2 separate regions of the Homo sapiens genome follow, and region 2 is linked to region 1. Evidence: promoter capture Hi-C in 16 types of primary human blood cells and fetal thymus (Javierre and others, 2016). All regions are on one chromosome and are shown on one strand. The core of a region is centred on a gene start or on the middle of the fragment in contact, and the rest is flanking DNA. Distances in the headings are between cores, read along the strand shown.

Region 1 (7,467 bases), core at 2,918-5,417:
TTCTGGCTCCTGGAGTTGCCCACATTCTTTGGCTTGTGGCCCCTTCCTTCCTCTTCAAATCTCTCTCACTCTGACCTCTGCTTCTGTTCTCTGATCTCCCGTTCTCAGACTCCGACTTTCCTGCCTCTCTCTCACTTAAAAGGACTCTTGTGATGACACTGGCTCCACCAGGTGATCCAGGATCATCTCCACATCTTAAGATCTGTAAGCAGAGCCACAGAGTCCCATTTGCCATGTGGAGTAACATGGGCAGTAGTTCTAGGGATTCAGGTGTGGGCATCTTTGAGCATCATTATTCTGCCCACCACAGTCCCATATGTACTAATTTGGAGGCCACAGAAAAAAGCAGACATTTAAAAATCAAATGAGCCTGGATTTGAACTGCATCTCTGTCACTTGCTGGCCATGTAACCGAACATGTTTACTTGTTTAACTTCTCTGAACATCTTTTCTTATATCTGAGATGAGGACAATAATCCATTACTATATACCTGATGATAAACTACAATCCCCTTTCCTTCATTTTTTGAAAACATTCTTTTTGCAATGAATGAACGAATTTTTTTTTTTTTTTTGGTTTGCCGAAACAAAATCCACATCGGACCTGAACTGGCCTCTTGTCCTCTCCCATCTGACGTGTCCCTTTCTGTTCTCTGCCATCACCCAGGAAGAAGGTTTCATGTCTGACATGATGAGCTCAAGGTTTGTCCTTCACCAAATGTAGTGCTGTAATTCACTTATAAGAACTCCTTCCCAGGAGGACTAGGAGCAGTTGGAGGATGGGTTGGGGGATGGGGGAGGTCACAGCTGTCGTCAGGATGGGGGCAGTTATCTCAGGCTTCCCCTGCTGCCTCTGTTGGTCCCTGGCAAATATTGCTCCTTTCTGTCTCCGTGCAAGCTGGAGGGTGCATTTCCAACTTTATACCCTGGGTTTTGTTTCCTTCCTCCCTTTCTCTGTTGCGCTTGGGTTACTGACCTTGAGATGAGATGGTGTGGAAAAAACTCAGACAAACCTGAGTTGAAATCCCAGGTTAGTCACTTCCCGGTGGTTAACCTGAGCAATGGGCTTAAGGTTTGTCATCCTCAGCGCTCCAGCCTGAAGATGGAAGTGGCCTGGTTCGCCACGTGGGGCTGCCTGAGGGAGCCAGCAGTGTATAAGGCAGAGCATGATGCACGGAAATGAACTGTGTGTGCAAGGACCCTTATACACAGTATGCAGTTTCAGGAGGGTCCGATCGCCTCCTCTGCATGGGGAGAAAAGAGTGAGAGGAAGTGATATAAAGTCAGTGACACGCAGTGGGCGCCACAAAGGTGTGTTAGATGAATGTCGAATGATTAGTTGCCCAAGACTGCATGCAAAACAGGATTCTAACTCAACCACCTAGACTCTTCTGCCTAAACTAGGTCCCTTTATCTCTTATCTCCCAGTGGGACCACCTCAGTCAGGCTCTTGGGGAGAGGAAAGGGTAGTTGTTTCGATGTGGACTCTGGCACCAGACTACTCTGTTTAAACCTCGAAGTCTTACTTGCCAGCTGTGACCCTGGACAGGTTATTTATGTCTCTGAACCTCAGTTTTCTCATCTGTAAAATGAGGCTAAAATGGCAGTTTCAAGGTTGCTGCGAGGCATAAAAGAGTTACTATCTGTTAGGTGCTTACCATGGTCCGGGCACGTAGTAAACTTTCTATAAGCAGAAGCTATGAAGATCCTTTCCTGCTTCTGCATAAAGACAGCACTTTCTCAGCTCCTTCCTTGCGTCACTCCCTCTAGTCTTGGCAACTGCCCAGCCCTTTCTCACAATGGAAAGGGTTTTCTTTAGAAGCAGTAAGATTTCCATCACCACCAACAAAGCCTGAGAGACTGTGTCCTCAAGATGTTGAGAGCAGATTCAAGCATGCAGTAGGAGGCCTGGCCTCCAAAGTTCCACCTAACTCAGACTTTTGAGTTTTCTGATATTTCTCTGGGTTATGTCACCCTGAACATTTGTGGGGTTTTAGAAGAAATTTCTATGTGGTTTTCGACATGAATTGTTCTTGCCTGGAATGGGCTGGGAATAGTATTTCACAGGACAGAGAAAAATTTTCATTGAAAAATCGAAAACACTTGCAAGATAGCCTGGAGGCTGATGGGCCTCAAGAGGAGTGTCTGTGGCAAATCTGCACAGTGGACCCAGGGACACAAGGAGAGAGGAGCCAGGATGCAGCTGCGGTGGGTGGAAGGTAGATGGAGGCTGTGTGTGGAACTTTCTGTTCTCGCATTCAGCACTCTCTCCCCCATGAGAGTAAACACTTGTTGAAGACAGAGACTTAGAAATACTCATCTGTGTCCCCACACTAGCCTCTCTCTCAAGCACAGAAAAATAACTTGCTAAATGCCCACCGAGTGGATGAGCCCACGCTCTAGGCCTGGCTGAACCTCCTTGAGATTGAGGCCCTGAGGGAGCCATTTCACATCTCCCCTCCTGTTTCCTCTTCCAAGAGGGGGCCGGTAAAAATACCTACCTGCTGCACAGACCCCTTGTTGCAGGGTTGAAAGACAGTAGCTTCAGGGAGGTGTCAGCTGAGGCCACGGATCCGACGGCCCCAGGATCCTCAGTCCATGGGGCCCAAGAGTCATAAAACAAGAACATGAATCCATCTGTCTGTCTGGTATTCCTGGAGCTTGGTCACGCTGCGGGAGCTCTGGCTTGCAGCTGGCAGGGCCCGGGGTTGAAGGGACAGCTCCCAGCATGGAAGGCTATGGGTGGGGGGACATTGCAAGAAGCACTGATGCTCCCCTCTGCAGTCCCCACCCAGTCCTGACTTTGCTTGTCTAGACTGGCTCGAGGAGGGGGTCGGCAGCTGGCGATTCTGCCTCTCCAGGAAGTGCAGCTGGGACTGTAGGGTCCCCAGGGACTTGCAGGATCCTCTGCCTGATAATCGTGGAGAAATAAGGGAAGGTGTCTATAGGAGGCAGGTGGTGCCTGGCCTTAGAGGAGAGCCCCAGCAGAGCGACCTCCACGACAGAGAAACCCCAGAACGCCCAGACTGCAAGCTCCAGGAGCAACAAAAGTGGACTGTGCCCCTCGAATGAGGGAATATCTGTCTGTCTGGTTGACTGCCAGCTGTGTGTGTGTGGTCATCTCTGTCTCTGTGTGTCTTTCTCTGGAGCGTTTTTATTTAAGCTTTTGACTTCCTTTATTACTGGTGTGGACTTGTGTGTGGGCATCCTGTTGCCAGTTTATGATGCACATGTGTGGAATCGCCCTGAGCTTGCCTTTGATATTGGTGTGTTGTGTGGTGTCATTGGCGTGCACGTGTATGTGTGTGTCGCTGATTCTCATGCAAGAATGTGCTTCTCTTATGTGTCTGTCGGAGTGTGCCTCTAGCATGTCCCTCTTGGCTGCTGCACCACCTTTCCTGGCCCTTACCACCTCTTGGCCCACCATATGGGTGCTTTTGTATCCAATTCCCCTCCTTAGCAGGTCAGCTCCTGGAGGGCAGGCACTTGGTCTCTTTTGTCCATGGCTCTGTTCCCAGCTCCTACAACAGTGCTAGGCACTAGTGGGCGCTCAGCAAAATAAAACTGACGGAATGAACGGTGTGTCCAACGCATGTGCCTCTCCAGTTGTGCAATTAATCTTGGTGTGATACTGTGTGTGAGTGGGGTTGTGAGACAATGAGGATTTCTGTTGTGTGTTTGTAATGAACTCGGAATGTGCACAAGCATATATGTGTATGTGTGTGCAACATTGAGTATGGTGTGCATGATCGAGCCCCTGTGTATCTCTGGAGAGCATGTGTGATTGACTCTCGTGTGTGTGCCAGCATGTCTGTGCATCTCTCATGTGTTTGGCGTAATTGTCTGGTGTGCAGGTATGAACCCGCGTGTGCCTCCAGAGCGTGTGGGCGCGCGAGTGTACGCACACGGCTCCTGCCCCGCGCTCTCCTCGCGCCCTGCGCTCCGCCTGGGGGCGGAGAGTGGGGGGTGCGGCGAGGGCACTGCGGTGCCGCGGCCCGCCCTCCGCGCTGCGGCTCGGGAGCGTCACCGTCCCTCCCCGCCCCAGCCGCGATCCCCGCCTCCTGGTCCTTTGTAGCTGGCCGCGCCGCTAGCCCGCAGCCGCCCAGAGGCCCCGCCCCGGCCCCGCCCCGGCGCGCGCCACGCCCCGCCCCTCCCCTCCCTGGGCCGCAGTCGCGCCCGGGCCGCCGCAGGCCCGCACCGAGGCGCGGAGCGCGGCGCACGGCGGTGCCCAGGGCCGCGGGCGGGCAGGCGGGAGCGCGGTGGGTGGCCGGCCTTGGACGGGTATGGCGGACCGGCGGCGCGCGTGGAACACCGAGGACGACCTGCCCGTGTACCTGGCGCGGCCGGGCAGCGCGGCGCAGACCCCGCGCCAGAAGTACGGCGGCATGTTCGCCGCGGTGGAGGGCGCCTACGAGAACAAGACCATCGACTTCGACGCCTACAGTGTGGGCCGCCGCGGCTCGGCGCGCACGCCGCGCAGCGCTGGCCGGCCCGACGCGGTCGGGCTGCCAGGGCCGGGAGGCAGCGAGGACACGGCCAGCGACGTGAGCGAGCCCTCGGGCTCCGCGGTCAGCTCTCCCGGAGAGCGCGACGAGCGGCCGCCGACGCTGCGCATCCGCCGCCCCGCGCCCCGCGACCTGCCCCTCGGCCGGGACAATGGCCAGGTACCCTCGGGGCGCGCGCGGGCCAGACGAGGGGGGCGGGCCCCGGGAGGACCCAGGGCATGGGGCGCCCGAGGGCCATGCCCGGGCCCCGGTGTTGGGGCAGCGGCCGCCAGGCTGGGGAGAGCCACGGCGCGGCCCCTCCCCCACCTCATCATGCAAGAGGTTCCCAGAGCTGGGGCGACTCGGTCGGGGCTGGCCGGCGTGGTCCGTGAGACTCGGAAGGGATCGCCCGGGTCCAGTCCCGGCTCCTCTTCTACAGAAAGGGAGAGAGGTTCTGAGAGGGGAAGTTGGCTAAAGCTACCGCATGGACGCTTAAACGCGAAGGAACCTCTGGGATGAATCTAACCCAGGCCCCTCATTCTGTTTTGTGAAAAGAACTGGAGCTCCGTTCCGTGTTGGTCCATTCATCCATCCACTCAGTCGGTAGTAATTATAGAGCACCTACTGTGTGCCGGGCCCCGGGAGAGGTTCCGCGAGTCGCCTGCGGCCACACAGCTTAAAGCTGGAAGGAGCTTTTTTTCCGAGCGCTCCCCTCATGCTTGCTGGGGGGAAGGATTTGGTTAAGGATTTAGTTCGTCGGGCAGTTGGAGCCGTAAACCCCTACCCTCAAGCGCCAGTAGATTCAAGGGGCACTCCTGAGCTCCACAGCACACACCGATGTGCCTGCTTCACAGAGCAAGGTGGAGGTAGAGCTGGGATTTGAACTGGGGTCTCTGGCCTCCCGGACCTGAGCATGGGGCCGGGAGGATCAGGGAGAGGGAACGCTAGGGCTTGGGCCCTGCGGGTATTCTCTCTTGAGCTGGGGGTCACCAGGAAACTGGGGGAAGAAGGGCGGATGGACGGCGTAGCCTTTGGATGGACCGACGAGAGCCAGGGTCAGGTGCCAGAAAAACGGAAGTTGGAGCATCCGAGGGCTGGGGAGCTTTCGAATTGGTCCAGACCTGGATGCCGGAGAACTGCTAGGTGCCAGGCCCAGGGTAGGCGCTAGGTCCCTGGCTCAGCAACCTGGCCCCACCCTCCAGAAGTTCCCAGGCTAGGGTGAGCGACGGATTCATTGTGAGAATTAAATCAGTTAATGCCGGTCGGTAGTGAGCATTCAATAAATGTTTGTTGTTGACTTTTATTACAATCATTATCATTTTAATTAAACCTTCCCCTCTTAAATGCTATGAGTGACCCAAAGTGAGCCTGGAGGGAAGCAGAGCTTGATCGGGGCAGATATCTGGGAGGGCTTCCTGGAGGAATAGGAGCAGGGAACTGGTAAACACGGTGGTGGGCCTCTTCGGGCCCCATCCCTTCGCGGGCGGGCTGTTGCTCCAGAGCTCTCCGTGGTCCTGAAGCCGGAGCCTCGCGAGGGAGAGGTCCAACAGCAAGGGTGTGTGTGTGTGTGTGTGTGTGTGTGTGTGTGTGTGTATGTGTGTGTGGTGGTGGGGTGATCAGAAAGGGAGATGGTGCGAGAGTCCAGCTTCCTCTTCCCCCACCCCTTCTGTATCTCCCCCTGTCCACTACCTTCCCTGGTGGTCCGACCTCTCTTGGGATCCAAACTCCCGAGCCCGATGGGGAGGCTTCTGGGCCGCGGGCCGAGAAGCGGGACCAGCACCAGGGAATCCGGGTTTCCAGCCAAGGCGCTTTGCTCTCTTGGGCCTCAGCTTCTCCATCTGTCAGATGGGGGTGGCCGTCTTCTTCCGGCCTTCCTCAAAGCGTGGTGGAGTACTAGGGAGGCGAGGGCGCTTTGTGCACGGCCCGTAGCTGTCCCAAGGAGAGTTCCTCTGGAACTGCGGTCAATGTCACCAACGCCAGCATCTCCCCCAGGGCGCAGCCTGGGCCAGCCCCGCAGCTGCGCCCTGACCCTTGGGGACGCTGGTCGCTTCACCTCTCCCGTTCCTCTCCCCTACTCCTTCCTCTTCTCCCTGTGGTCCCCTCTGCCTTTCTCCATGGCTTCTCAGGCACCGGACAAAAGGCAGCGCCTCTGGCGCTCCCGGGGCTCCGAAAGCACTCGAGCTTCGCGACTGTGGAACTCAGGGGCTCGCGATCTCCACGGAGGGAGGGTTTTACTTTCTGCCGGCAGAGCGGCCTTGAGGCTTGGGTTACAGTGGGCTCGGGTTCCGGGGCGGGCCTCACCGCTCCAGGGCTTCGCAACGGGTGCCCCGGCCCTTCCCCCCCCGCCCACCAGGCTTCTCCCTGGGCTGCAGGAGGGGTTTCTGCGGCGCAGGCGCAAGGATTGCCGCTGCCGGAGGCTGAGCGGCTGCGGCGCTTTGTACCGGCGAAATCTGCTTGGGAGCAGCGATCTGTTTGGCCAGTGGCAGGCGGATGCTCCTCCCCCTGATACGCACGTGGTCTTGTCCCTTGCTGTAGGGGCTTTCTGCTCAGATCTCCAGACTGACCCCAGGGAACGCCCTGGTACGGGGAACCTAGGACTTAACAACTCCAAGGAAGGGAGTGTAGGAGTTGGGGAGGGACAGTGTCCCCATCTGCAATTTCCGGTCATTGACAGGGATTTTAGGCCCCGCTGAGAGCCAGGGATGCATGAATGCGTGGAGGGAAATGAGTTGTAAACAGAGTGTAGGGGAACCTGGCATCTCCATGCTGCTTTGCTGCAGCTAATATGTTTTGCACCCGGGGTACATCATTTTACCTCTGTAAGCCTCAATTTCCTGTCTGTAAAATGGGAAAATTATGCCTAGTGTTCCTGGGATACTGAGCTGGCTTCTCTGTGAAGCTAAAACCTCACCTCTATTTTAAGGCCCAGGTGTCTCTGGCCTCCTGCCCTGGATTAGGGGACTGGCCCCTGGGGTGGTGAAGG
Region 2 (7,467 bases), core at 2,059-4,558, 1.4 Mb after region 1:
ATTTCTTTTGTTATTTTTATTTACTAAAACTTTAATTGAGCCTTATATAGTAAAATATCCTCATGTTTTTAGGAAAAGTGAAATTAGATTTATAAAATGTCCAGACTGAAGTTTTGAAAGAAATGGCATTTTGTATATAATATGGATGAATGCTGTTGAGGCTAGACGTGCTCGTAGTTTAAAACATGCCTGATCCGGGAATGCTTTGCATTAAATGAGTTTATATTTTGAGAGCAAAACAGGGAAAGAAAACACTTTCCTTCTTTTTTTTTTTTTAAGAGACAAGAAAATTAAGTTGAATGCGTATATTGAAAGTGCTATAAGCCGAATGTTTGAACAACAAAAGTAAACACTGATTATTACAAATGTACATTTGGACCACGTTGCTTTTATCTTTCAAGCAAAACATTTCCCACAGTTTTTGTGGGTTTTTATTTAAGTTGGGAAAACTTCGGAAGTTTGTGTGAAAGTATAAATAAGTTTGGAAATGTCATGATTAGAGTTTGATAATAAACATGCAAAAGCAAATGGGAAACTCTATTAAAGTCAGATGTAACATTAAATAATGTTTTCTCTAAAATGTATTTGCAGAGAGAAGAACAGTGATTTATGTGGATTTGAAACAAAGACTTTGGCTGTAATTTAAAATAAAGGTTAAATGTGAATTCTTCAGCCTGAACATGGATGAAGTTTTTTGTTTTTAAGAGCTTCCTTAGTGATTGTTATAGGAGCCTCTGTGCCCTTTTCCAATTATGGGCACAGAAATTATGCATGTATTTATAGATTCCATGTAAAAAAATTCTTAGTTTCCAATAAATTTTAAGCTGCATTTTACGAAGTAAGCATCTGTAGAGAACCTTTTGGAGAAAAAATAGGAGGGAAAACGTTTCAGTTTATGTAATTATTGAAATATACCACTGTATAGAGAATGAATAGAAATTTAAAACCGTAATCTGAAATTTGTTTTAAATCTCATTGTTATGAGATTGACCTCATAATTGCAAATCGGCATTTTGTGTTCAGTACAACTCCAATTCTTAAGGAAATTTGTCTGTTCTATTAGAGTAATACTGTAAGTTTAGGAAGATGCCCCTTTGGCTATTGTTACATATGGGCCCTTTTGAAAATAGTGGTCATGCTAATATTTGATCAGATAATGCTGACTAATGCTGTAGAGCTTTCGAAAGATTTCTTGAACATTGTCAAGTTTTACTTTCCTTTCTTAGGTACATGACTGTGTATCTCTTAAAAGTGTATATGTATTTGTGGGGGGCAGTTAGTGTTACATTTTTATTGTAAATTTATTACAGTTCGATATGTGATTTTGAGTGAAATTCATTGCAATATGAATGAAAATTTTTTGTATGTATGGTGTTTCAAATGCTTTACCTAATTAATTGTCTGAAAAACTGTTAAAGGGGATTTAAATTGCATATACTAGTTTTACATTTAAAGCTTTCACACTGAGCTGAATTCAGATACAGGACCTTAAATTTTTTGTCCAAAGAAAGTAAGAACTCATGTAGAATGAAAAGATATAATTTGAGTCTCAAAATCAAGATCTTTAATATACTGCTCAGGACCTAACTATTATTTTTCTAGTAGTTTTCACACATTTTTTTCCGGCAAATGTTATGTTACGGAGTGATTATTTTGTGTTACTTTGTACACTTAAGGAGCAATCCATTTTTAGCAGTTGAGCCCTCATTTTGTAAAACTAAGCTGTTGGCAATTTGCTAGTTTCTTTAAATTCTAGAAACCACTAAGTTTTACCTTTTCATTTATTTCCAAACAAAGAAGATGTTAGAAAGTTCTGTAACTTATCTCTTGAAATAATATTTTCTGGCCGGGTGTGGTGGCTCATGCCTATAATCCCAGCACTTTGGGAGGCTGAGGCAGGCAGATTGCTTGAGCCCAGGAGTCTGAGACCAGCCTGGGCAACATGGCAAGACCTCGTCTCTACCAAAAAAAAAAAAAAAAAAAAAAAAAAAAAAAAAAAAAATTATTTTGCATGTGTATTGAAGTGCTTTGAGTTTCTTGCCTTGTTCACTCCAAAGACGATCATAATGACTTTCCTCATTATAGGAAAAAGGAAAAAAGGGATCTGTATATTTTTGAGGACAGGGAATGATGAAGCAAGACCCTGGACTTTGCTTGGAATTTGGACATTTGTATTATTGGTCAAGGCCAGCATACTCTGCATTTTATTCCCATTCACTTAGTTGAAAGATGACTTTGGAGGCAAGGACATATATCTTGTTACCAAACCCTCTTTCTCAGAACTTTGAGATAAAATGAACATTCATTCCTTTGCTTTTGTTTTTGCTAAAAGAGAAAAAAAATCAGTTTGAGTAAAGCAAAAACATTTCTACTTTTGGGGTTTGAATGATAACAAAGCAGTTGAGATTAAATTATTGACATCTGACAAGCAGAATGGATGTTGAATGTATGTTCTTGCTATGGGCCGCTTGAAGTTGCTTTTGCTATTCTCTTTGCTGATGTGAAGCAGAAAATGAACAAGGTAACAGTTTTGATGGTGAGATTAGAGGTAGCCAGGCTGACTGTCTCCTGGCTCTTAGAGACCCTTATAAGCTCAGGGCCACCCCCTCCCCTTGTTTAGATATTACTTGCTCTTTTGAGTTTCAGATTACAGGAGCAATTGGTCTGCATGACCTATCTTAAGAACTTTAACTTTGCAGTAGAAACTTAAACCAAATGTATATCCTCAAGAGACAAATCATCTTAAAACTAGGCTGTTGTCATTTTGATGTACTGTACTGCTCACTGAGGAACAGTGTGGTGGAGAGCACCACCTAGTGGATGGGACCCATACTTGATGGGCTGTGTAGGAGATTTCGTCTACATTGATGTAACTCTTGCCCTTGTCTTGCAAATAAGTGATTTTTAATCGTCCTAGCACATATTTTTAAGTAGCGCTAGGACCCCAGGAGAATGAGATTGGGAGTAGTTGTGAGATATGTCGGTTTTCTTTGTAGTTTTCGCACTTCTATAGGTGTATGTACTGGTGCTTGACATCTCCACATTCTTATAAGCTGATATTATAATTCAAACAAAACTTTTTTTTTTAAATGTCAGTAGGGTAGTATTTAGTCTTTGGGAATTTTGTGTTTTTGAGTGCTTATGTTCAACCTCGGTAGTAAGAGACGGCTTTGGATAGAACCTGTTTGTTGCCACAAACTTTATACTATGCTGCTAATCTGTTCACCTCACGAGAGGAGGAGTTGCTGCTGATTATAAACTGTAGGTCATAAATTGTTACCTGCTTGTCATAGAGACTATATGCCTTTTGAGTGTACTAAAATATTTGCAAAAATTAGATGAAACAATTCCACATTTAAAAAAAAAACAACTTTTAACACATCATGACCACAAATTTTAGGTACAGCCATTCCTTGATATTTATTTTAGAATGTCAAATTCTTGATAAAATGTATCACCTCTTCGTTTGTTGAATGTTCCTAGACATTTGTTGAGCTAGGAACTATGCCAGGCTTTGGGAATCCAAAGTGAAGAAGACATAGTTCTTTTTGGACTTAGAATTTTTTAAAGTTTTAAAATTCTTCAACACAAAAAGAGTGAGCGTATTCCTGGGATGTGGGATGTATTATGTTGGGGTATAAATACATTTTTTTGCTTAATATTTTCTGACATTTAGCAAATGCTTTTGAAGAAACTGCTAAATAAAATTGATGGGTTTGTTTTCATGGGTTTGGCAGGGGGGAGGCGACAGAAGGCTGCAGGTAACACCTCTTTGGTTTCGTTCTTCACTGAGTTTTATCCTCGGAGAGCCCAAGTTTGGAGGCATAGAGTGAAGAATTTAAGAGCACAGGCTTAGAGTCTATTCCAGAGTATGGACCCTGGCTTTTCAACTTGCCAGGTGTGTGCCTTTGGGCAAGTGTACTCATCTGTTTTCTCATTTGTTGTGAGGATTCAATGAGATAGTCTATACAATGGGTTTAACATGGTGTCCGACACATAGGAAACACTAAATGTTCAATATGATTTATTATGATGATGATTTGGAAGTTTATTATGATGATGATTTGGATGATTCAGTGTAGGTGGTTCTCATGGTGCACTCAGTCTCCCCACCACCTGCAGGCCCCAGATCCCTGCTTAGTGTGACCATGCAGACAAACCCCCACTGATGGCCAGCAGATGTCTGCGGGTGCTGAGCTAGAAAGTTCAAAGTTCTTCCTTATGCAGATGATGTTTACAGAAAGAGTGTACCCTCGTGTGTCTCGTGTGTGTGTGTGTGTTGAACAGTGTTTACAATCAGAGGCACTTAACCTGAGCTCCATGAACCAAAAGCCTCTGAAGCTCAAAATGACAGGCAGAAAGTTTTTTGTTTTTGTGTATATGTTTATTTCTTTTATAGAAGAGATCAGATTCATAGCTTTTGTCAGTATCTCAAAGGCATCTGTGCCCCTAAAAAGGTCAAGAACTATACTTTAGATGTTCGTGACTCTGTGTAAGGCCACTGGAGAAATTTAAAATATAGTCCCCTCTTAGAAAGTGAAACTCAAATATGAATTTTGCACTATTTGTTTTTGAAGATATGTAAATAATTTTAAAGATAGAGTTGATATTTTGAGGAACTCAAATATGAGTAAAATGTTTTTTCCTCTCGCCCCTCTTGTCAAGGTTCTGAAGAATTTTAAGAGCAAGGAAAAGTTAAGAATACAGGCTATGGAGTAGACCTAATTTCAAATACAGCTCCGACACTTCCTAATGAGTCCTCAAGCCAGTTAACTTGGCCTCTCTTCTCTGTAAAAGAGGAATCCTAGGGGTACCTGCCTCCTAAGTTTATAATGAGGATTAAATGCAATAATCTGTAAAAAGCCCTTACAATTCTTCTTGGCATATAGTAAGTACTATAATAGTGTTTGCGGTGATCATTTTTGTTGCATATTCACTCAAAAACATTTATAATGTATCCACATTCGTTGTCTGTTATGAATTGTCAAGGTAATTCTTTTCTTGTCTATTTTACCTCCATCTTATTGACATGTGAATGACATTTCTGATTTCTTATGAGCAGACTTTCCAAAGTTCTGCAGCTGAAATGCCCTAAGTCTGATAACCTCAGTAACTAGAATCCCAAATGTACCTGGAGCCTTAGAATGATTTTGGAAGCTTTGGAAAGCATAAAAGTAGAAAGAAACTGACGGGGTTGGTGGTAGGAGCTTTCAAATTGATTGAACACCCAAAAATTATCTTGGAATTTCTGAGCTGGAAAGCATTTGGGGGTTCTTTCCATGCAACCTTCAAAGCACACAAGTGAGGAATTGCACATCACCCGGTGACTCCAAAGTCAGAGAACCAGCTGGGAGTTACCATGTGCCTGGAGGCGCTGTCCCCGCCCTCTGCCTGCGTGCTGACCATCCACCACTCGTACTTCTAAGAGAGCAAAGGATATAGGCTGCTCATGGAATTCTAGTATAAGCAGTGATCCCAGAAAAAGTGTGTGGTGAGTCAAAGACTGTTCCGTGCAGGAAAGTACCAGTAGCATCGAGAAAAAGGAGAGCTTTGGGAGCAGGAGAAAAGATACGGAGGAGAGCGCATAGGGGACAGGGCAGGGACAGGCTGCACGCTGTAGGTGCATCCCACAGAAACCTAATGGTAGGAGGTTATCTATGTGTGCTTGGCAGAAAAGAAATGCCTGTTTCAGCAGTGCCTGCCGTCCACCCAGCGTGTGTGAGCTCTGGGGTGAGGGTGAGATGGGGCTTGCGAATCTGCCGTTCCCATCATTGGTTTTGTTCCCTAGGGCCTCTTCTACTAAGAGTATCTTGCTTACTGCCTGCGAGTCTAGCATTTTCACTGTCATCATGTCTCCTAAACTCAAACCAGCCACTTCCTCTGATTCACAACTGAAGAAATGGCAGTCTTTTCCAACACTGGGCTGGGGGCACTGGCTGGTTTGAACCCATTGCAAGAATGTGTTGAAGTCCAGAGTGGCCTTGTGGCCTTTTAAAATTGTCATTTGAATTGTGTATGCTTTTCACCTTATGCACTAAAGTTCACCTTGCCCTATGGGTGAGACTGAAATAGTGATGAAATGAAGAAGAAAACTTAGAGTAGTTGAGCACCTACTGTGTGCCAGACACAGTGTCAGACTCTTCACAGACATTATTTTCATCAGTGACCTGTAGTCACCTTCAGCATTATTACTGTCTCAAGTTTATACCTCAGAGATGAAGGCTGGAAGAGGTTAAGTGACACAAAGCCATGTCACTAGTAAGTGGCAGAGCTGGGATCTGAACCCAGGTCTGTTTTACCTGGTTTCATCCTTTGCAGTATGGAGACTCAGAAGAATGCAGCATGCATGCACACTCTCCACACACAGCCTCCAGACCAGATGGGGTTTGGATTGAAACGCAAAGCAGTGCGAAGTTGGGTCGGATCCTTGGGTTGGAACTTCTTGTTCTGTTCTCCCTCCTCCCTTCCTCTTTTCTTTATTACCTCCGTCCTTAATGTGCCTGGCCCATGCTGGGTCTTACATATTTGTCAAGTGAACAAATGAAAGAAAGTTTTCCAAGCACACAGAAAAGAAAGTAGTCATTATTAACCGGCAGGGATTCAGAAGCCTGAGCCATGTCTTTCCAGCCTATTGTGTAGTTTTGGATTGGGTTGTTAGGCAGGTAGGGGAGGAGAATATTTGTTTTTAGACGGCAGTAGTTAGCAAAGCCTCTCCGTGATGTTTTTGTGGAGGAAATGTTTTTAAAATAGACCCTTAGGGTGTTCGTGACTAGTTGAGCTGGCTGTCTACAGGGAGGGGTCTCCGGTTCTTTGTTACTTTTTATATCCCATTTTCATCTCATTTTTTGAATGATGATTTTTCATTATAGATGTCTTTAATGGCATAATGATCAGAATTGCAAATGACAGGAGGCCAGGAAAAATGTGCATATAATGAAGACCTAGTTTATCAGCAGCACTCATGGAAAAAGTCATTTTAGTCGATGTAAATTCAGCTCGACTCAGTGACATGAAGGTGAGCATGCCCTTAAGTGGCATTACTAGAAGCCCAGAGTCTGGAACAAGGGAAGCAATGGTTCTGTTTTCCTCTGCACTTTCTGCTGACACAGAGAGTATTGATTCTATTCTGGAAACTGTATTTTATTTGGGAGGCCCATGAACTATTTTCAGAGGTAGTAAGTATGGCCAGAAGCCGCAGATGTATTTCATATAAAAAATTCCTGAGAGGAAGGGGCCGGGCACGGTGGCTCACACCTGTAATCCCAGCACTTTGGGAGGCCAAGGCGGGCGGATCACGAGGTCAGGAGATCAAGACCATCCTGGCTAACATGGTGAAACCCCATCTCTACTAAAAATACAAAAAAATTAGCTGGGCATGGTGGCACGCACCTGTAGTCCCAGCTACTCGGGAGGCTGAGGCAGGAGAATCACTTGAACCTGGGAGGTGGAGGTTGCAGTGAGCTGAGA

Evidence for each region. The method cuts DNA at HindIII sites, captures the fragments that hold promoters and counts their contacts. A CHiCAGO score of 5 or more calls a contact.
Region 2: a contact is called between a fragment that was not itself captured here and the fragment with the promoter of CRMP1 in region 1, in 1 of 17 cell types (total B cells). The highest score is 5.4, in total B cells.

Annotation. Positions count from the first base shown.
Region 1 is chr4:5,889,786-5,897,252 of GRCh38, reverse strand. CRMP1 (collapsin response mediator protein 1) reads left to right here and starts at 4,167. Exons shown (of 14, transcript NM_001014809.3): 1 at 4,167-4,664. The coding sequence starts at 4,284. RefSeq lists enhancers at 5,562-6,305, 6,306-7,050. The HindIII fragment of the contact is 9,333 bases long and covers 3,166-7,467 here.
Region 2 is chr4:4,483,927-4,491,393 of GRCh38, reverse strand. The region is part of intron 1 of STX18 (syntaxin 18); the gene reads left to right. Among named protein-coding and RNA genes, the nearest start is that of STX18-IT1, 6.0 kb to the right of the region's middle. RefSeq lists an enhancer at 1,094-1,273 and a silencer at 2,781-2,900. The HindIII fragment of the contact is 3,702 bases long and covers 1,458-5,159 here.